Regions from separate parts of the Homo sapiens genome. Here regions 1, 2, 3 and 5 are each linked to region 4. Evidence: promoter capture Hi-C in 16 types of primary human blood cells and fetal thymus (Javierre and others, 2016). All regions are on one chromosome and are shown on one strand. The core of a region is centred on a gene start or on the middle of the fragment in contact, and the rest is flanking DNA. Distances in the headings are between cores, read along the strand shown. Region 1 overlaps PIGK (phosphatidylinositol glycan anchor biosynthesis class K). Region 2 overlaps PIGK (phosphatidylinositol glycan anchor biosynthesis class K). Region 3 overlaps TYW3 (tRNA-yW synthesizing protein 3 homolog). Region 4 holds the start of MSH4 (mutS homolog 4). Region 5 overlaps TYW3 (tRNA-yW synthesizing protein 3 homolog).

Evidence for each region. Contacts are between HindIII fragments. The CHiCAGO score rates a contact against its expected background, and 5 or more counts as called.
Region 1: a fragment that was not itself captured here is called in contact with the fragment with the promoter of MSH4 in region 4 in 7 of 17 cell types (fetal thymus, total CD4 T cells, M0 macrophages and 4 more); the score reaches 8.6 in fetal thymus.
Region 2: a contact is called between a fragment that was not itself captured here and the fragment with the promoter of MSH4 in region 4, in 3 of 17 cell types (total CD4 T cells, naive CD8 T cells and activated CD4 T cells). The highest score is 6.1, in total CD4 T cells.
Region 3: a contact is called between a fragment that was not itself captured here and the fragment with the promoter of MSH4 in region 4, in 1 of 17 cell types (M1 macrophages). The highest score is 6.0, in M1 macrophages.
Region 5: a contact is called between a fragment that was not itself captured here and the fragment with the promoter of MSH4 in region 4, in 1 of 17 cell types (M2 macrophages). The highest score is 5.9, in M2 macrophages.

Annotation. Positions count from the first base shown.
Region 1 is chr1:77,135,215-77,139,461 of GRCh38, reverse strand. The region is part of intron 9 of PIGK (phosphatidylinositol glycan anchor biosynthesis class K); the gene reads left to right. Among named protein-coding and RNA genes, the nearest start is that of MIR7156, 77 kb to the right of the region's middle. The HindIII fragment of the contact is 4,984 bases long and covers 1-4,012 here.
Region 2 is chr1:77,207,619-77,211,846 of GRCh38, reverse strand. It overlaps PIGK (phosphatidylinositol glycan anchor biosynthesis class K), which reads left to right. Exons shown (of 11, transcript NM_005482.3): 2 at 1,358-1,411. Among named protein-coding and RNA genes, the nearest start is that of PIGK, 9.7 kb to the left of the region's middle. The HindIII fragment of the contact is 4,556 bases long and covers 673-4,228 here.
Region 3 is chr1:74,737,061-74,741,392 of GRCh38, reverse strand. TYW3 (tRNA-yW synthesizing protein 3 homolog) reads right to left here. Exons shown (of 6, transcript NM_138467.3): 3 at 2,605-2,703. Among named protein-coding and RNA genes, the nearest start is that of TYW3, 6.1 kb to the right of the region's middle. The HindIII fragment of the contact is 946 bases long and covers 972-1,917 here.
Region 4 is chr1:75,795,046-75,798,942 of GRCh38, reverse strand. MSH4 (mutS homolog 4) reads right to left here and starts at 2,061. Exons shown (of 20, transcript NM_002440.4): 1 at 1,714-2,061. The coding sequence starts at 1,957. It overlaps RABGGTB (Rab geranylgeranyltransferase subunit beta), which reads right to left. Exons shown (of 9, transcript NM_004582.4): 9 at 3,857-3,897. The HindIII fragment of the contact is 6,934 bases long and covers 545-3,897 here.
Region 5 is chr1:74,759,231-74,763,127 of GRCh38, reverse strand. All of the region lies in intron 5 of TYW3 (tRNA-yW synthesizing protein 3 homolog), which reads right to left. Among named protein-coding and RNA genes, the nearest start is that of TYW3, 28 kb to the right of the region's middle. The HindIII fragment of the contact is 5,911 bases long and covers 1-3,897 here.

The DNA.
Region 1 (4,247 bases), core at 271-2,770, 1.3 Mb before region 4:
CTTTAGGGCTCTCATGTGATTTAGGGTTGTAATTTCCTCCTTGATCCAACCCATGGTGTTTCCAGCTGCACCTTCATCTAAAGAAACCTTTACAGGGGACTGTGTGACTTATCCTGCTATTGGTCTTTTTATCTAGTAGCAGAAAGTATTCGCAGGAGCCTATTGCTGAACAGTGGCTTGCAACAGAGGAAGCTCCACTTTGCTCAACAGTAGGGAAATCTCTTGGGAAAAAACACATAGACGCTAAAACTCAAGTGCCGAATGAATGTGGAAGGCAGGACGGCCTAACATGTACTAATATAGAAACCTAGAGTTTTGAGTTAGAATGGCTTTGTGTGAGGGTTAGGAGAAAAGACTGTGGATCCATTTGTTGACAGTTGAGCTTAAGACCTCTACATAAAACCATTAACTTCTAAGGCTTTACCCTCAATCAGAGAGTGGGCTGGAATAAAATCTAACAGCCTGAGGGGAAGAAAATGAGGACGTTTCTCTTGCCTTGGCTAGAGATATGGGGGTAAAAGAGGCTTCCCTGGGAATATGTAATCAGTCATACTCTCATGTGATTTAACATGGTTAACCTTCTTGGCCCAAGAAATTTAAAGTTGAGCAATTCAGTTGAAGTGATACTAGATTGATAGTAACCCAAAGCAAGACAGAAGCAAACTCAAATTCGATTTAGGAATCATTCTCAATTGAGGTTCCTCAGGATCCTCACGGATTAAGGTGTTCATGTTCTTAAATTACAGACAATTTGAGAAAGCAAGCTAATCCCGTGAGAGTATTAGTTTTCTACTGCTGTATAACAAGCTACCACAAACTCAGCAGTGCAAGACAACACCCATGTATTATCTCACAGTATCTGTAGGTTGGAAGTGTGCGTACAGGTTGGCTGGGTCCTTTACCTAAAGTTTCACAGGCTGAAAAAGACCACTTGATACTGTGGTCTCATCTGAGGCTTGGCGTCCTCTTCCAAGCTCACTCATTGTTGACAAAATTCAGTTCCTTGCACATGTAGGGCTGAAATCCCATTTTCTTATGAGTATTAACCAAACACTATCCATAGCTTCTATAAGCTGTCTTAGGTCCTTGCCTCATGGCCCCTCCAAAGGCAGTTCACAGTATGGCTGTTTGTGTCTTCAAAGCCTGCAGTAGAGTCTCTCCTATTTTCAATCTGTCTAACTTTAGGAAGGGCATGGTCCTTTTAATGGTTTGCCTGGTTAGGTCAAGCCCATTCAGGACAGTCTCCTTCTGATTAACTAAGTGTGAACTGATTTCAGACCTTAATTATATTTGCAAAATTCCCTCACTTTTGTCATATAACATAACCTTATCATAGGAGTGAAGTTTATCTTATTCACAGTCCTGCCTATTCTCCAGGAAAGTGGACAATACAGGGCATATGAACACCAAGGGATAAGAATCTTGAGGGTCATCTTAGAATTTTGCTTACCACAATACAGAATAATCAGGAGAATTAGACCTACAAGAACATTAGATATATGACTTATCAATTACAAAATACAAAATAACCATTTAAATTATTTTTTGAAATAAAAGGGGCCAGGCGTGGTGGCTCACTCCTGTAGTCCCAGCACTTTGGGAGGCCGAGGTGGACAAATCACTTGAGGTTAGTAGTTCACGACCAGCCTGGCCAACATGGTGAAACCCCGTCTCTACTAAAAATACAAAAATTAGCCGGGTGTGGTGGTATGCACCTGTAATCCCAGCTACTCGGGAGGCTGAGGCAGGAGGATTGCTGGAATCCAGGAGGCGGAGGTTGCAGTGAGCCAAACCAAGATTGTGCCATTGCACTCCAGCCTGGGTGACAAGAGTAAGACTCTGTCTCAAAATAAAATAAAATACAAATAAAAGAGGAAAATAAGATAAAATAAAAACAAAAGAAAGAAATGAAGGATTACACAAGGATTACATGATAAAGAATGATGAGGCATATTTGGAAAAGGCCAAATAGACTTTCATATTTGTAAACCACAATTATTCAAATTAAAAATGTAATAAACAGATTAAATAATAGACATATTATTGAGGTATTGATGCATCACAAACCATTCCAAAACTTAATGTCTAAATAACAACCACATATTTAGCTTTTGATTCTGAGGGTTGACAATGTAGGATGGGCTCAACCTTCATGGTTCTTCTAGCTTATGTTGTGCTTTCTCAGAATTTGTCATCTTTGGGTTGAGTGAGTGACTTCTGATTTTGGCTATACTATCTCACATTTCTGGGGCTTTTGATGTTGATTCAGCTCCCATGTGGTCCTTTATCCTCCAGGAGGTTATCCATGGGTCCCAAAAGCATGCAAGACGTTTTGTGGCCTAGATTTGAAACTGGAGCCCTGTTATTCTTGCTGCATCCTATTGTGCAGAAGGAATCACAAATCCAAGTAAAATTCAAGGGCTGGAAAAGCAGACTGTATCTTTTCTTAGAAGGAGCTACAAAGTTGTATCTCAAAAAGGTATGAATAGATACAGGAAAGAGTAAAAGATTTTAATGATTTTTGTAAGATTTCTCATACCTGAAAGGAGAATTAGTAAAATAAGATAGATCTAAAGAAATAACTCAGTATGAAATATAGACAGAGAGATGGAAAGTGTTAGGACAGGTTATGAGACATGAAGATAATATTGGAAACTGTTAGCTATGTCTAATTAGAGTTCCAGGGAGAAGAAAATATAGAATGAGCAAAAGGCAATATAAGAGATAATGGCTTATACTTTTGCATTTTGAAGGTAGTTCAACAAATCCAAAGCACAATACAGGGAGTATATACTTCATGTGAACATTTTAGAACTCCCTAAGTACATAAGAGATTTAAAAATCAGTCAAAGAGAAAAATGGCATCTACAATGGGTAACAACTAAGTTGACAGCAAACATCTTTTTTTTTTTTTTTTTTTTTTTTGAGACGGAGTCTCGCTCTGTCGCCCAGTCGCCCAGGCTGGAGTGCAGTGGCGGGATCTCGGCTCACTGCAAGCTCCGCCTCCCGGGTTCACGCCGTTCTCCTGCCTCAGCCTCCCAAGTAGCTGGGACTACAGGCGCCCGCCACTACGCCCGGCTAATTTTTTGTATTTTTAGTAGAGACGGGGTTTCACCGTTTTAGCCGGGATGGTCTCGATCTCCTGACCTCGTGATCCGCCCGCCTCGGCCTCCCAAAGTGCTGGGATTACAGGCGTGAGCCACCGCGCCCGGCCGACAGCAAACATCTTAATAGCAACAGCGGAAACCAAAAGATAGTACAGTAATACCAATAAAGTACTGAGAGAAAATTACTATTAGCTTAGAATTTAAGCTGGCTAAGCTACCATTAAGGACTGAATGAAAAATAAGGACATTTTCAAACATGCAAAAGCTGAGAGTGTTTGGTATCAAAATACCTTAATACCTAAAGGGATGCACTTTTTGAAAAAGGGAAATGAACCAGAAAAGAGGTCTGAGTGTAAATAGGAACGCTGTAATAAATTGGTAAAATGTGAGTAAATTTAAGCAAAAACTGAATATATTTTATAATTATGATGATAATGACAATGACAATAATTATTTGGGGAGTAAGATAAACCAAAGTATTAATGTATTTAATAACAACATTGTGTAAGAGAAGAGGAAGTGATTGGTTAAAGTATTCTGGAGTTTCAGCTTTTTTTTTTTTTCCTTTGGGAAAAGGGTTGTAAATTTTAATAGCTTTAGACAGTGAGGAAAGTATGCAGTTTACATTTTTAGAGTGATTAATAAATGAATAGAAATAGAGGAAATAAGATCAGAAACATTGCAGGAGAAAAAGTGAAATTAAAAAATCAATGAGAAGGCAGTAAAAGGAGTGAAGAGAAATAATGATAATTTTTTAATCACATTTTAAATAAGTGAATAATAATAGTTTATAACAATACTGCATTAGGATAAAAAGAGGCATAACTACAGACAGAAAATATAATGATATTAAATAGTTGAAAATGAAAGGATTACAGGCAACTACTGCTCACCAAAAGAAAGCTTAAATACTTATAGTGTAAAATATATACATAGTACATATACATATATGTGTATACACATAGTACATAGTACATAGAGTATATAACATATAACATTATTAATCATAAGCAAGATAACTAAGTAAAGGTTTATCTCATCAGGAAGAGAAAAGCATGTTAAACTCTTAATTAGTAATATAACCACAAAATATTTAAAACAAAAATTTACATATTTAAAAAACAGGTTGATAAGTTTATC
Region 2 (4,228 bases), core at 1,701-4,200, 1.4 Mb before region 4:
CTCTCTCTTTCAATTATATCTCCCAGAAAAAAAAAAAAAAAGAAAGAAAGAAACCTCAGCAATCTTTATGGGTGTTGTAGCACATTTGTCTGATCTTTAATTTTTAATATTGTGACCAATATTAAAGAATTGGTTAACATAATTGCAGAGATTTTAGAGAATCAACTGAGATGACTATTAAATGATTAAAGGATTAAAAAGATGTCTATGAGAAGTTCAAAGAGTGATAATTTTGTTTTTGTTGAGGATGTAGGGAGATTATATCTCACAAGCAATTCACGAGGATAAAAATTATCTGTATGGCATTACTAAAAGTGAAATATTAATCTTTGGTTAAATTCCTGGCATATGCATTTTTACCTTGCCTTCTCACTGTAGAGAGTGATCACTTTAATAGAGGAATTATCAGAGTACAACCTAAAAGGAGATTTTGAAAGTTACAACTTTATAGTACAACCTTTATGTAATAACCTTCTTACCATATTCTGAACCTATCAACCATGCGGTTTCAGTTTTCCATAGATGACTCTTGATTTGTTCACCGAGAGTAAAGGCATTTGGACCATGGATTCATTAATTCAAAAAATATTTATTAAAAACCCACTATATGCCAAACTTACTTGGAATACATCATTGAATATAACTGATGAAAGCCCCTGCCTTACTGAAGCTTACATTGTTTTGGGAAAGACAGACGATTAATACACATAATAAATAAGTTAATTATATATATAATGTAAGAAGATGATAAACACAGTAGAAAAAATAAATTATAGTAAGAAAAATGGTGGGGCGAGGTTGCAGTTTTAAATAATAGCCTTGTTAAATGTTGAACAAGCAGATTGTACGTTCTTAATTGAACATACATTCTACTTTCTTAATAATTCTCAGGGTACGGGAAATAGAAAGATATGAGTTATATAGTAAGTATGCTTTCATTTGAGTAATGCTAAATAATATTTTAAAGCAGAAGCTCTTGCACATATACCTTATAGTTCTCTAAAAGAGCCCTGTGATGTAGGATTGGCATTGCTTTCATTTTGCACATGAGGAAACTGAGTCTCCAGGGAGGTTAAGTATCTTAATCAAGGTTACTCTGTTTAATTGGTGTCTAAGCCAAGAATGAAACCCAGTTCTCCAGATTTCCAGTTCAGGACTTTTGTCCTTATAGTGTCTTAAGCAATAAGCTCTTTTGATTCTTTGTGTAGTCCATAATGACAAATACTGGAATCTTCATAAACTTACGTAAGATGATTGTTATTACAACTGTAAAAACTACACGAGTCTCAACTGTCCATTATCAGTCTTTATTCTGAGAAATTGTGCCTTTTTCTTCTATTTGTTTTGCTTTATTTAGGATCAAGCAGAACAATTCTTTAGAAGTGGCCATACAAACAACTGGGCTGTTCTGGTAAGTATACTGTAAAAGTATACCTTGCTGTTCACATTAGATATGTATCTGAGAAATTTGTGTGAATCAAATTTTTGAAAATACAATTTATTTTTTTACATTTTATATCAGAAATTCTTTATTTTGATTTGGCTATATTTTAAATTGACCACATCAACTATAATAATCTAGTAATATTCTTTGTCCTCAGAATATCTGTCAAGTGGTGATCTGAAAATAAATGTAAGAATAAATTAGGAATGCTATTGTTAAAGGAAACATTTTATAAGAGGTAGAAATATTTTAATGCTGGAAACTACTAATTGCATCTGTTATTTATAGTATTAGTTGATAGATACTTTCTACTTACACTTTTTAAAATTTTTTCAGTTGTTTTTTCTGCTTATAAAAATAATAAATGACCACTGTAGAAGTTCAAGTTATACAGAAAAGTTTAAAGAAGGCAGACTAATTTTGTTTTGTGAATTTCACCTCAATTAAAGAAGACAGGGAAAATGGCTTCAAGTCCCACATCCCAGAGTTAATATTTTGGTGAGCATTGTTCAAGCCCTTTCCCTCTTCATATATAAGCATAAAGATATATAGATATATGATTTTATATAATTGGGATCATATTATACCTGCTATTTTGCAACCCTTTAGTATTATCTTAGGGATCTTTCCCTGCCAGTAGGTATGGAGACATATAATCTTTTCCAAAAGCTGTATTTTCTTCTGTTTTGTGAATGTACTGTAACCTCCAGTTTATGGGCATTTAGAATCTAAATTTTTTGTTATTGTAAACAGGGCTGTGTTGAACATTCTTATACACATAACTCTGTGACCTGACTGATTTTCTCTTTAGGATAAATTCCTAAGTGTAAGAATGTGAAGTCATGGAGCATGATTGCCTCCAGAAAGACTGTGGGTCTTTTTCTAAATTCAAGTCAGCTATGTATTCTTAATTTTTATCTTAACTTTTTGACTGCTGGTCAACACATTACATTTTGTTTTAATTTGCATTGTTTTGATTTTTAGTAAGGCCTGCTTATTGGCCCTTTTTTTTTCTTCTGCCTTTTGCCCAACCTTAGTGTGAATTACCATCTTTAATTTTTCTGGATTCAGAAATTTGTAGTTTTAATTCCTCAAACAGAATTCACATAATCAAATTTGTTTTTCCTATGCTTGGAAAATATTTGGATAATAGTTTCATTACTGGAGTTTCATTTAATGGCATTTATATGATTAGAAAATATAATGTTGACTTAATGAAAAAACATGTACAAGGATTGGACTGGAAGAAACAATGGGGAAATAGAGAATAGGTTCAAAGAGGCAGGAAAGGAAGCTGATTTTGTGAAAAAGGGAGCAGAGAATGTACAGCATCTCAAAGCCAGTAATGCATGTTGGAAAAGGAAGAAAACTGGGGATTATAAATGGTAAGAATATAGTGGGAATGTAAAGGAGATGGATAGAGGAATTCAGCTTAAAGTGCAGAATAAACATGCAAGACTATAATTAACTTACTGACGCCAAATGAAGTTTGAGGCTTTGTAAATTTATTGAGAATCATTTGACAAACACATTTGATAAAAATATAGATAATGAATTATCTATAGGTTCCTATAAGTAAATAGGGTGATTCCAAGTTCTATACTTGTTTGTTTTAAATGTAATAGCATTGTGATTAAATAGGACAGTGTAACATGGGTCCATGGCTCATTTTCTTGTTCTTCAAGAAAAAAACCTCTTATATATGCTACCCTTCACAAGAAATTTTTCTGAAGTTACTGAGAAAAGACTGCTAAAGATAAGGAGAGAGGATTTCAATGCCTACTTAAAAGTAAGGAGAACTATTGGGAGCCAGGCCATCATCTACCAATTTGACAGGATAAACTTTTTCTACAGGAAACTAGGAGCCCCTCCATGTTCAAGAGGCAATAACTGCCTATGTGCAGACCACCAATTGCAAAGGGCTTATCTTTTGGAACTAAAATACTGTTAGCTTATACTGACACACATATGAAAGCCTTCCTTGCTCTGGGAAACCTCTAACCAAACCTCTCTTCAATTTCAGTAACCTGGTAAAAAATAAAAGATGAAAAAGAAACATTACTGAGCATTGTATTACAACTACAGTTTTCTTTTTTTTGTCCAATATTTTACATATTAGTATAGTGAAACTTTAATAAATTATATTTTATTTTTTAAAATTAAAAAGGGAGTTTTTGGAGATGAGGTCTTGCACTGTCTCCCAGGCTGGAGTGCAGTGGTGTGATCATAGCTCACTGTAGCCCTGAACTCCTGGGCTCAAGTGATCCTCCCACGTCAGCTTCCCAAGTAGCTAGAACTACAACCACAAACTACCACTCCTTGCTAAATTTTACATTTTTTTTTGTAGAGATGGGGGTCTCATTGTGTTGCCTAGGCCGTTCTTTAACTCCTAACCTCAAGTGATCCTTCCATCTTGGCCTCCCAAACTGCTAGGATTATAGGTGTAAGCTACTGTGTCCAGCTAGAATTTTATGATATTTTTGATATATGGAATTTTACATTTTTATATAGTCAAAAATTTAGTCTTTTCCTGATTGGATTCTAGGTTGAAAACTTAATTTAAAAAAAAACCATGTAGTTCCTTTCTGTTTGTCAGGGGCAAGAACACTTATGCTGTTCTCAAAATTGTCATTATACCTACTAAAGGCACAGGCATGTGATAGAAGCCGGGATTGTACTTGGTAGATATATTACCAAGTGACCCCAATCTATATTTACCTACCTTAGAATGGGTTCTGAACAACACTAACTTTTGAGGCATGGAATTAGATTTTCCTAGCACCT
Region 3 (4,332 bases), core at 195-2,694, 1.1 Mb after region 4:
CAGCTCAGGAGTCCCAAGATCAGCCAGACCAGCCTCGATACACCTGCGAACCATTGGAGGACTTGCATCTCCTATTTTGGAAGGAAACATCCCAGACTAAAAAGGCTCTTACCTCTGATCCTGAGGAAAAACCCATTCCTCCTTAAAAAATATAAGTGAAAACCTACATAATCTTTAACACCTCTCTTTACCCCTTTAATGGAATCCTTTTACTATTTCATCATATTTTCTAGCAGCATACTAACCATACTCTTTGTGATAGGACTATATACTGTAGCCAAACGAGCTCAACTAACAACTTCTACCGAGGACCCCTGGACGGACCCACTGGCCCTTTCACTGGTCTAAAGAGTTCCCCTCTGGAGGACACTACAACTGCAGGGCCCCTTCTTCACCCCTATCCAGCAGGAAGTAGCTAGAGCCGTCATCGCCAAATTCCCAGCAGCAGTTGAGGTGTCCTGTTTAGAGGGTGGATTGAGAGATGAAGCCAGCTGGACTTTCTGGGTCAAGTGGGGACTTGGAGAACTTTTCTGTCTAGCTAGAGGACTGCAAATGCACCAATCAGCACTCTGTAAAAACGCACCAATTAGCGCTCTGTGTGTAGCTAAAGGACTGTAAATGCACCAATCAGCACTCTGTAAAAATGCACCAATCAGCGCTCTGTGTCTAGCTAAAGGATTGTAAACGCACCAATCAGCACTCTGTAAAAATGCACCAATCAGCGCTCTGTGTCTAGCTAAAGGATTGTAAACGCACCAATCAGCACTCTGTAAAAACGCACCAATCAGCGCTCTATGTCTAGCTAAAGGATTGTAAATGCACCAATCTGCACTCTGTAAAATGGACCAATCAGCTGTCTGTAAAAGCGACCAATCAGCAGGATGTGGGTGGGGCCAAATAAGGGAATAAAAACTGTCCACCCGAGCCAGCAGCAGCAACCCACTTGAGTCCCCTTCCAAGCTGCAGAAGCTTTATTCTTTCACTCTTAATAAATCTTGCTGCTGCTCAGTCTTTGGGTCTGCATTACCATTATGAGCTGTTAACACTCACTGTGGAAGTCTGCGGCTTCATTTCTGAAATCAGCAAGACCACGAACCCACTGGGAGGAACAAACAACTCTGGACATGCCACCTTTAAGAGCTGTAACACTCACTGCGAAGGTCTGCAGCTTCACTCCTGAAGTCAGCAAGACCACGAACCCACTGGAAGGAAGAAACTCCGGACACATCTGAACATCTGAAGGAACAAACTCCGGACATACCATCTTTAAGAACTGTCACACTCACTGCGAGGGTCCACGGCTTCATTCTTGAAGTCAGCGAGACCAATAACCCACTGGAAGGAACCAATTCTGGACACACTTCAACTTCAGCACACCCCATCTGGATAAAGGCGACTACCATACAGCTAGGGGCTCCAGCCAGACCTAAGTAGTTATCCTTGATTCCTCTTTCTCCTCCTCCCTCTGGCTGTCCTTCCCCAGACAACCTTACAATTCTGTTGATTCAAATGCTGAAATACATATTGAATCTATTCCTTTCTCACCTGCTTTGGTGCTATCACCTTACACCAACCTATCACCACAAACTACTCCTAACTCGTATCTTTTCACTTACTGCACTCCTTTCTCTATGCTGAAGCAGAACTGAGTTTTTCAGAACAAAAACCTAGAAAGCCACTCTTTGCTTAAAACTGTCCCTTCAATAACTTTTCCCTGAACTCAGAAAGAAATTCAAACTCTTTAATCTGGTCTACAAAGCCTTAAATGACCTGGCCCCAGCCTCCTTCTGGCACCTTCTTTCCACTCTCTAGACCCACTGAAACTTTGTATATACTTTTCCATCTTCATGGAATGTTCATTTCCCAGCTACATGCCTAGCTCTTTCTGTTCCTTTAAGTCTTAGCTTAAAGAAAGCTTTTCAGAGAAGCCTATCTTCAAGTGAGCTGCTTTTTGCACTGTTCTCTATTACCAGGTTGTTTTTTCCTTCGGTAGAACATTTTGCAACTTGCAGTTTGTTTTTTGTTTTTTTGCCAGTTCACTTGTTTGTTTTTGCTGTCTCCTAACTTTGGAAGAGGAACCAAGACAGTCTTTAATCTTGTTCATCACTGTGCCCCTAGTACTTGACACACTGAGACTCAATACATTATTGTTGCTTAAAATGCAATTCAGTTTTATATATAAATATATAAAAGGTATAAAAAGGAGAATCAAGACTAAACAGATGTTTACCTCATGCATGCTCATTTAAATGGGAAAAATGAAATATTCTTTAAAACTCTTAATTTTACATGTAGTTCCACAGTATTTTTTCTTAAAGCTTGGCAAACAAAAACAAACTATAGAATGCTGAAGTAAAATTTATAAATAAAAACGTTAAGAAAGAAAACAGGAAGCATAACCTGGGACTTATATTTTCCTAGCAATGATTAGCTACTCTTTTTTTCTAATATTAAAAATTAATAGATTGAGCAGACCAATAAATAATATATACATAACTAGTTGAATAAGGTAATATCTCATTGATATTTATAGCAGGTTAAAAGCTTAAAATTACATCTACCCACATATCTATAAATTCAAGTACAATTACAACAAAATTTTACCAGAATCTGTGCATCCTGCAATTGTCGACACTGCACATGAAGAACAAATGGTTCAAATTTCAAAGTGGCATCACCATTTGCTTTCTTCAGAGCTACAATCTAAATAAATGAACAGTGGTATCAGATGCAAGTATATGGCCTGTCCTTTGGCGACCCTTTACCCCATACATAACTTCAATTTCTCTTAGAAATTTTCAGAATCACTCAGCATATTTTTTCTGCAGTAACTTTTCCCTCTGCTTTCTTGGTCCTTTTTCACCAAAAATTTATTTGCTTATTTTCTTAAAATTTCTAGTTCTCCCGTAAATCTTCTATACCATTCTTTCCACCTATTAGTGTGCTTTGAAGAAGTAAACTACTACTTTATTTAATTCCATAACGGATTTTTCATTAGGAAATGTAGTATACAAAAACTGTATTAGGATTGTTTAAATTTTTTGTTAGATTGAGATAGAGACAAATGTAATGTGAGAGAAGGGTCCAAACAAAGCCTAACTGCCACCCATGTTCCCAAGAAGCATCCTGTACCAAGCACCAGTGCTTACCAGCAGCACTAGTAAGCTCACAAATAGCAGTGCATGCAAAGAGCTCAGAGCACAGCCAGTGAGTTCCTGTTCCCTCTGTAACAGGCACAGTTGTTGTAACAATTGCAACTTGCAGTTTTTTTGTTTGTTTTTTTTTCCCTGTTCACTTGTTTGTTTTTGCTATCTCCTAACTTTGGGAGAGGAACCTTGGAACTGCTCAGCTACATGAGAACCAATGGCCCCTGAGCACGTTCCTAGCTTTCTGTATTTCAGACCCTATGGGGCAGTGTTCAGGGTCTGGGAGCTACTGCAGCACAAAGTGGGGTACATGCCATCACTCTGCCCTGATCAGCTGTGGAACCAATCTGCTAGCCATGGGGACTGACACATTGCAAAGGGCTAGATCTTGTGTAGTCTCTTCCCTCCTGCTATAAGCAAATGTTACAACACTTGAGCCTAGTATGCGTGTTTTTTGTTAGTGACCTTGAGTCAGGTACTAGTCTCTTCCCTAGGTAGCACTTGCCTGCCTTTTAACCTTGGCTGCACCCATGTTACAGTGTATCCTGCGGCGTAGTCTGACCACCTAGTGAAACATGTAATATTGTGTCTGAGCTAGAATTTATACAAGACAGTTATTATTTCTGTCTGCCCAGCATCCCCGGGCAACATCGTCCTGCCTTCACACCATTTGATTTCTGGTGGGGCTGTCAATCATTACCCTGTCACACATCACTCTCCCTATCACAATATCAGAGGTGCCAAGTGCTTGCTTATGTCTGATCAAGGATATCATCACATTCCACTAGCAAAAATAATTAACCTAAGAGGGAGAGCACCTAATCTAAGCAGGACAATTCCAAGTCCTTCTCTAAGATGGACACATGAATTGCAGGAAAAGGAGTTCTTTTTCTACTGGTGTTGCTGACAGCTACCATTTCTGCAACAAAGATTATCTGCAGCAGAAGAGAATAAAGGCACACTGCAAAGAGAACCAGTGCCTAAAGATGAAGATGAAGTGGGTACTCTGAAGACAAGATTTGAACATCTGAACCAGCAATACTTGATTCTAGCTCCATTCGCCCTTTCCAGTTAAATAAATTATCTTTTTTGCTAAAAACAGAATTGGATTTGTAAATTCACTGGGAATGAAAAGTGCCTGGCTGATAAAAACTTATGAATTCATCTAAACTCTTTACCTTAGGAA
Region 4 (3,897 bases), core at 812-3,311:
AGGGACATGATAAGATCATTTTCCACATAACTCTGGTGGTACAGTAAGTAAGCTACAAGGATGGAAGAACACTTAAGAGTTTGAGGGCTAGGTGCAGTGGCTCACACCTGTAATCCCAGCATTTTGGGAGGCTGAGGTAGGAGGATCGCTTGAGCCTAGAAGTTCGAGACCAGGCTGGGCAACGTAGGAAAACACTGTCTCTACAAAAAAATTTTTTAAATTAGCCATCTGTAGGGGCACATGCCTTGGTCCCAGCTACTCGGGAGGCTGAGGTGGGAGGATCGCTTGAGCCCAGGAATTTGAGGCTGCAGTGAGTCATGACCATGCCACTGCACTCCAGCCTGGGCAACAGAGCAAGACTCTGTCTCAAAAAAAAAAAAAAAGTGCAGAGAGGAATTTAATTAATCATATAGTCAGCCTGAGGTATCCATTAGTCCATCAATAAAAACTTCAGAAGACAGTCTGAAGTAAGTCTGGAGTGTAGATGAGATCTGAGCTGTGGAGATAGTCACATCTAGGTAGAAGTGGCCTAGGAAAAAAAGCTTTAATGACATGCCCATAATTTGGGAACAAAGGTGGGCACAGCAATTCTCTGGGAGGTAGCAGAAAAACAGGGGCAAGTGGAATCAAGGAAGCCAAATTAAAAGAGTTTAAGAGAAGACCAGTCAAGAACATTAAACATAGGCCAGGCAGCAGTGGCTCATGCCTGTAATCCCAATGCTTGGGCAGACCGAGGCAGGAGCACTTGAGACCAGGAGTTTGAGACCAGCATGGGCAGCATAGCGAGACTCTGTTTCTAAAAATAAAGAAATTAAGAACATTAAATACAGCAGAAAGGTCACATGAGATGAACTGAAAAATGACCATTGGATTTGGTATTTGTTACTTTACCATTGTGTTGCAATCGTGTGTGAAAAATGGTGATGCTTTGTCATGAATAGAGACTAACAAAATAATAAATGATTTGAAGGACATGCATCTTTTTTGTTTGTTTGTTTTGAGTCAGGGTCTCACTGTGTCACCCAGGCTGAAATGCAGTGGCGCAATCTCAGCTCACGGCAGCCTCGACCTCCCGGACTCGCCATCCTCCCACCTCAACCTCCTGAGTAGCTGGGACCACAGTCACGTGCCACCACACCCAGATAATTTTTGTACTTTTAGTAGAGATAGGGGATGGGGGTGGGAGGTTCACCATGTTGGCCAGGCTGGTGTGGAACTCCCGGCCTCAAGTGATCCGCCCACCCTGGTTTCCCAAAGTGCTGGGATTACAGGCGTCAGCCACCGCCCAGCCCACTCTTTTAATACTAAACATATTATTTTCCCTGAATTAGATGAAATGTTCAATTTAATCTATTTTATCCCACCTTAGCAGGATTTGGAGAATTAAATTCAGCAGCCAAAGATCAGCTCACAACTTCTATCAGCAAACTCACGCACAAACTGTCATTTGTCAGACACTGTGAGGGACGTTATATGGGATACTTCAGCCTTTCTCAGAACTGAGCCATCCACAGTCAAGGTCTTGCAATAGAACCAATTTGAAAAGTCAAGGCTTCTAATCACCCAGACTCACCAAATTCCCAGGGCACTCAGATCTCACGCCCCAACCAAATCACAACTTCACTGTGGTAACCACCACCCACGTGCCCCCGAGCCTCCATGAACTGCCGGCCTCTAGCCTCAAGGAGACTCCTCCACCCAATCACTCCTTGCCTTGAGCTGGCCGGGAGTTTGGCGCGGGGCAGGGAAGGCTGCTGCTGCTGCTGCTCCGGTCGCCCGCAGCTCCTGACGTGCCAGGACAGGTGGATGCAGAGACCACCTGGACCGAAGGGCGGCTCTGTGGAGTCTCCTGGAGTCCGAAATTGTAGCGGGGACCCTGAGGTGAGCGGGTTTCTCCCGACGACGGGGAAACCGCCGGGGCAGAAGGCGAGGTTGATGAGATCTCAGGCCTCAGCATCCTCCCAAACCTTCCCTGACCCGAGAAGTATGAGGTTTCTGAGCGACCCCTCCAGTAGCCCAACTACAGAAGCTGCGCCGCTGAAACGGGCGGGAGAACTGCGCGCCGACGCACTAAGCTGCACTGCGCAGGCGCAGGCAGGCTCAGCTTTCCACATGGATTCACGTACTTCAGGTCTATGACCCTGCTTCCAGCCATTCCCAAACCCATCACTTTCCACATGAACCTCACTGGAACATCCTCAGCCTGCAGGTATCAGACTGACCAGAACTCTGCAAGGCCCATCAATGACCACCCGATTTGTTAGCCCCATTATTCTCACAGCACCCAATCTCCCTTATTGCAAATGTTACATGCATTTCCCACACGTCCAAGCACACTAGCTTATCTTTAAATGTAGAAACCACCCAACACAGTACACCCAGTGCCTTTGACACAATGAGAACGTGTAATGCTCACACAGCATAACCCACCTAAGGTTGATCTTGTGACCAAATATAGGAAAGATAGTTATATTATCAAAAGATAGTATGCACATGGCTGTGTGCATAGTAGAGTAGGAAACAGGGAAAGACTGACTGGGTAAGATCTCTCAGTTAACAATTCCCCATCTACCAATTTCTAGTACTGTGGTTTCTAACATATAAATCAGTTAATGGCACACTAGAAGTTCAAACTCCAGCTTTGCAGTGGTGACCTTTAGAAAATTCCTTAAATAAGGCCAATAGTACCAACTTACCAGAGATCCATGGATTAAACATGACGAAATTATCTGGATACTGCCATACAGAAGCTATTAGAAGACATTAATTTACACCACTACTGAAATCCTGCCACTGTTGAGTATCTCAATAAACCAGTTATGCACAGCGGTTTACCCACATGCAGTGACAACAGTCCTTAAGAACATCTCTGTTCTTGGAATGATTATTGCACAGGGCATTCCAAACATACTTGAGAAAAATCTCAATTTCCATCAAAAAACCTTATTTTCAGATCGGGCACGATGGCTCCTCCCTGTAATCCCAGTACTTTGGGAGACTGAGGCCAGAGGATTACTTCACCTCCGGAGACCAGCCTGGGGAAGACAGTGCCTGTCCCCAAAATTAAGAAATCAGCTGGGCATAGTGGGCATGGTGGCAGGTACCTGTAGACCCTGGTACTCAGGAGGCTGAGGTGGAAGGACTGCTTGAGCCCAGGAGTTTAAGGTTACAGTGAGCTGTGATTGCACTACTATGCCCCAGCCTGGGGAAGAAAGGAAGACCCTGTCTCTAAAAAATAAAATTTAAAAATAGAGAATACCTCACTTTCACCAAAACTGTAAACCCCTAGAGTGATTGTACTCATTTTAGGCCAGGCGTGGTGGCTCACGCCTGTAATCCCAGCACTTTGGGAGGCCGAGGTGGGTGGATCACAAGGTCAGGCTGGTCTCCAGCTCCTCAGCATGGTGAAACCCTGTCTGTACTAAAGTAACATAAAAATTAGCCGGGCATGGTGGTGTGCGGCTGTAGTCCCAGCTACTCGAGAGGCTGCGGCTGAATTGCTTAAACCCGGCAGACGGAGGTTGCAGTTAAGCTGAGATCGTGCTGCTGCGCTCCAGCCTGGGCAACAGAGATTCTGTCACAAAAAAATAAAAAAGAGTGATTGTACCCATTTTAGCTTTTTAAGAAAAAGACAGGTGCAAAAAAATACTGTGGTGACCATCAACTTACCCGTTAGTGTTTCCTTATTTGAAGACAACTCCTTCTTTGGGTAATTCTGATATATAAAATGCTAAAAAAAAAAAAAAAAAAAAAAAAAAAAAGGACAGTCCGAATCACAACCCCATTTTAAGATGGTAGATTGCCATTTAACCTAAGTCTGTGACCAATTCAGAATAACCATATTCAAACCTATCAATCATTTCCAAATTTCAACAGCCATTTATTTTGTGCATCATT
Region 5 (3,897 bases), core at 722-3,221, 1.0 Mb after region 4:
GATCACTACACCTATACACTGAATATTCCCATCAAAAAACACATTCTACCTGGATGGGTGAAAATGATATCGCATTATTTTAACTTTCATTTCTTTGTAAGTAAAATACAATGTTTCTCATTTATTAGCTATTTGAATTTTTTAGTGTAAATTATTGTTTCCCTTTATTCATTTTTCTATTGGAGTTTTAGTGTTAGTTTTGTGATACAATAAACTGTAGGCTCTCTGAAAACCAGGCCTCATTTCTTTTCTACCCTCATGTTAACACCTAACACAAAACTCTGCTTGACACAGTAGCCTGCAGCAGGCAGCATAGCATGGTGTGTTGCATGCATTTGACACCAACATTCTTTTAGGAAAGGTGATGTCAGCTAATTCCAATTAATTTCCCACAGTCTTGATTTTTCACATTTATAAAGCTGGATATTATTATCCTGTAGCTATCAGGGTTGTCACAGGATTACAGATGATATATGTAAGTACCCAGAGAGTTAGTTATCAAAAATGACTACTTTTATGGAATATAGACTTCATGAGAGCAAGGATCCTATCTACCTGTCTCCTGTTATATTCTGAGCATGTAGTAGAGTGCTGGCATACTCAGTAAGACTATATTGAATAAATGAATGAATAACCCCAGAATAAAAATGTAACTATAAATGTGTTATCCTAGGTCTCAAATCAGAATGATCTGAAAGTTAGGAAACCCCCCTGCCACTGCAGAGATCTCATCTTACTTTTATGTCCTATTATAATGGGAGACTATGGCAAGAAATTTTTGATATCTACAGAATAGATCTCTATTTGGACCAATTTTCATCTTTGTTTGATTCAATAAACAGGCTAAGTTCTACTTACGAAGCCTATAAAACTCCAAAACTCCAAATATCCACATATTCCTAAATATGTCACCTAACTCTAATACATATACAACATGATGAGTACACATCCTGTCCATTTTCAAGAACTTATGCACTCATCACTGTACACCTTGATATCTAGTGCTGTGCTTGGCAAACAACAGATGCTCAATAAATATTTTTATCAATGAATGAATTAATCTCAAAAACAGACACAGAGTTAAATTTAAAAAGACTGAGATGCGTGACATACATAACTTTTTGGGCCTTGTTCCATGGTAACATCCTTTCACTTAATGCACCCTTTACATCCTTCCGTTACTGAAACCTGGCTCCCCTGTAGACACCATCTTCCATCATTCCTCCCAAGCGGAGACTGCTTATGTTTTCCATATCCTGCTACCACAGAGCTGAGAGATGAGGTCAGAATAAAACCGGCTCATCAACATTTTCCCAAATTCCTCCATCTGCCCCTCATGTCATCTACCAATAATGTTTGGTTCCTTACATTGATGAAAACTTCTATGCTTGACTTGATCTTTCTTTCTAGGTCTTGTCACCATCTTAGGTGATGTCAATGACTGGTATCCTTCTCATGTTCCACACAGCCTGTTCAGAATGACTTACATTAACGTTATCTAAAACATAAATCTGAGCATGCCACAAGATGGTGTGGCTCATCCTGATCATAAGACGCCATCCCTGTTATACAACCTCATCTTCTACCATTCTTTATCAACCCTGCACTTTAGGCTTAGGTAACTGAGTGTTTTTTTCTGGATTATACTTTCTTCCTAGAAAATGAAAGATAAGATTAAATTGCTCCTTTATGATCACCGAGAATTAACAGCTTGTGAAAAATGCCTCATCCATCACATTAAAAAAAAGTAATTAAAAAGGAATGTATGCCTTACTTTAATCAACCATTAAAGAACCTAAGAATTCAAAGCTATGTCCTTAGGGTACCAAAACAACTGGTAAAATGGAACAAAGATCCTTTCCTGAATAAAAACTTCAAATACTAGTTTTCCTTTCCCTTTTCTAAGAGAACTTTAAAAGTCCTTTGAGAAACAGTACTCAGTAAGTCAAAAGTTATGTTCTCCCCTTATACAGTAACACTTAAGCCTGATTTTCAAAAGTGCAATTTTCTGAACTCTCACAGGCAACAAAATGAGCTCTGAGATTTAAGGAAAAAAAAAAAAAAGTATGTTCAGGCAACTGTATTTTTTCTCTCCTTGAAAGAAAAGCAAATAGCCTTCAGTTTTTCTGCCTCTGCAGTCAAGATTATCATAGCATAGGACAACTTGTACTTAGTTCTCTTCATAAGTTTTCAGGCCAAGCCTGAGAAAATGAATTCTTGTTTTTCAACGTCAGTTAGAAAACCACTTTCAACAGAAAGCTGGAATTTCTCTAACTTCTCAAACAAAAACACAGAATTGAGGAAACTGAGGCACAATTTTATTTCCTTTAGGCTTCCATCATTCACAAATATCAAAGAAGGCTATTCTAATATGTATTTAGATTTTAACTAGCATTTTCTTTAAAAAACAACATGTATGTGACAGGCCAAGTGCCCAGTACTAGAAGCCCAGAGAAGTGGTCTGTGGTCTGTGCCCTCAAGGAGCTCATGGTTTAACAGGAGCTACAGAACTGTAAAGCCACATTTAACACACCATGAAAAAGATGGGACACAGTGCTCTAACTGAAATCACAAAATGCTCTCCGTTATAAGATCCAATGCCTGGGCTGAACTGCAAGGATGAATGGAAGCTGACAATGTGCTAAGAGAGGAATTAGGAGGAAAAAAGATGGGGGCATGGGGGATGTCCCAGGAAACACTACTAGAAAATAAAATATATGTTTTCGCTTTATATTATTTACTTATTTGGTCTTAAGTATACAGTTGACCCTTGAACAATATGGTTTTGAACTACACAGGTCCACTTACATGCAGATTTTTTTTGAATAAAAGCTACACCAAATATTCCTGCTTCTCCTTCTACCTTCTCTACCTCTTCTGCCTCTGCCACCCCTGAGATAGCAGGACCAACCACTCCTCTTCCTCAGCCTACTCAAGGTGAAGACGATGAAGACAAAGGCTTTTGTGATGATCCATTTCCACTTAATGAATAATAAATATATTTTCTCTTCCTTATGATTTTCTTAATAACATTTTTCTCTAGCTTACTTTATTGTAAGAATACAGTACACAATATATATAACATACAATACATGTGCTAATCAACTGCTTATGTTATGAATAATGCTTCCAGTCAAAGGTAGGATATCAGTACCTAAGTTTCTTGGGAGTCAAGTCATATGTCAGCCAGGTGCGGTGGCTTATGCATGTAATCCCAACACTTTGGGAGGCCAAGGCGGGCAATCACTTGAGTCCAGGAGTTTGAGACCAGCCTAGGCAACATGGCAAAACCCCATCTCTACAAAAAAATACAAAAAATTATCTGGGCTTGGTGGTACATGCCTGTAGTAACAGCTACTCGGGAAGCTGAGGTGGAGGATCACTTGAGCCTGGAAGGCGAAGGTTGCAGTGAGCCAAGATCATGCCACTGTACTCCAGCCTGGGTGACAGTGAGATCCTGTCTCAAAAACAACAACAACAAAAGCCATGTGGATTTTCAACTACATAGGGGGGTGGTAACCCTAACTCCATGTTGTTCAAGGGTCAACTATACAGGGAAATGTGTGTTATTTATTTAGCTGTTTTAGACCCATTTTTAGAAATGGTAAGACTTGACCATGTGCAGTGGCTCATGCTTATAATCCCAAAACTTTGGGAGGCTAAGGTGTGACAATCACTTCTGGCCAGGCCAGGAGTTTGAAACCAACCTGGGCAACATAGAAAGACCTCATCTCTACCAAAAAAAAAAAAAAAGAAAAGAAAAGAAAGAAAGAAAAATGATAAAGACTAGCAACTATGAGGAATCTAAGACAGCTCTTATTCTTTAGTCCTCCTTCTCTGTGTTACCCCTATTTCCAACCTGCTGCCATGTCTGATGGATATTCTGCAGTCTCATTC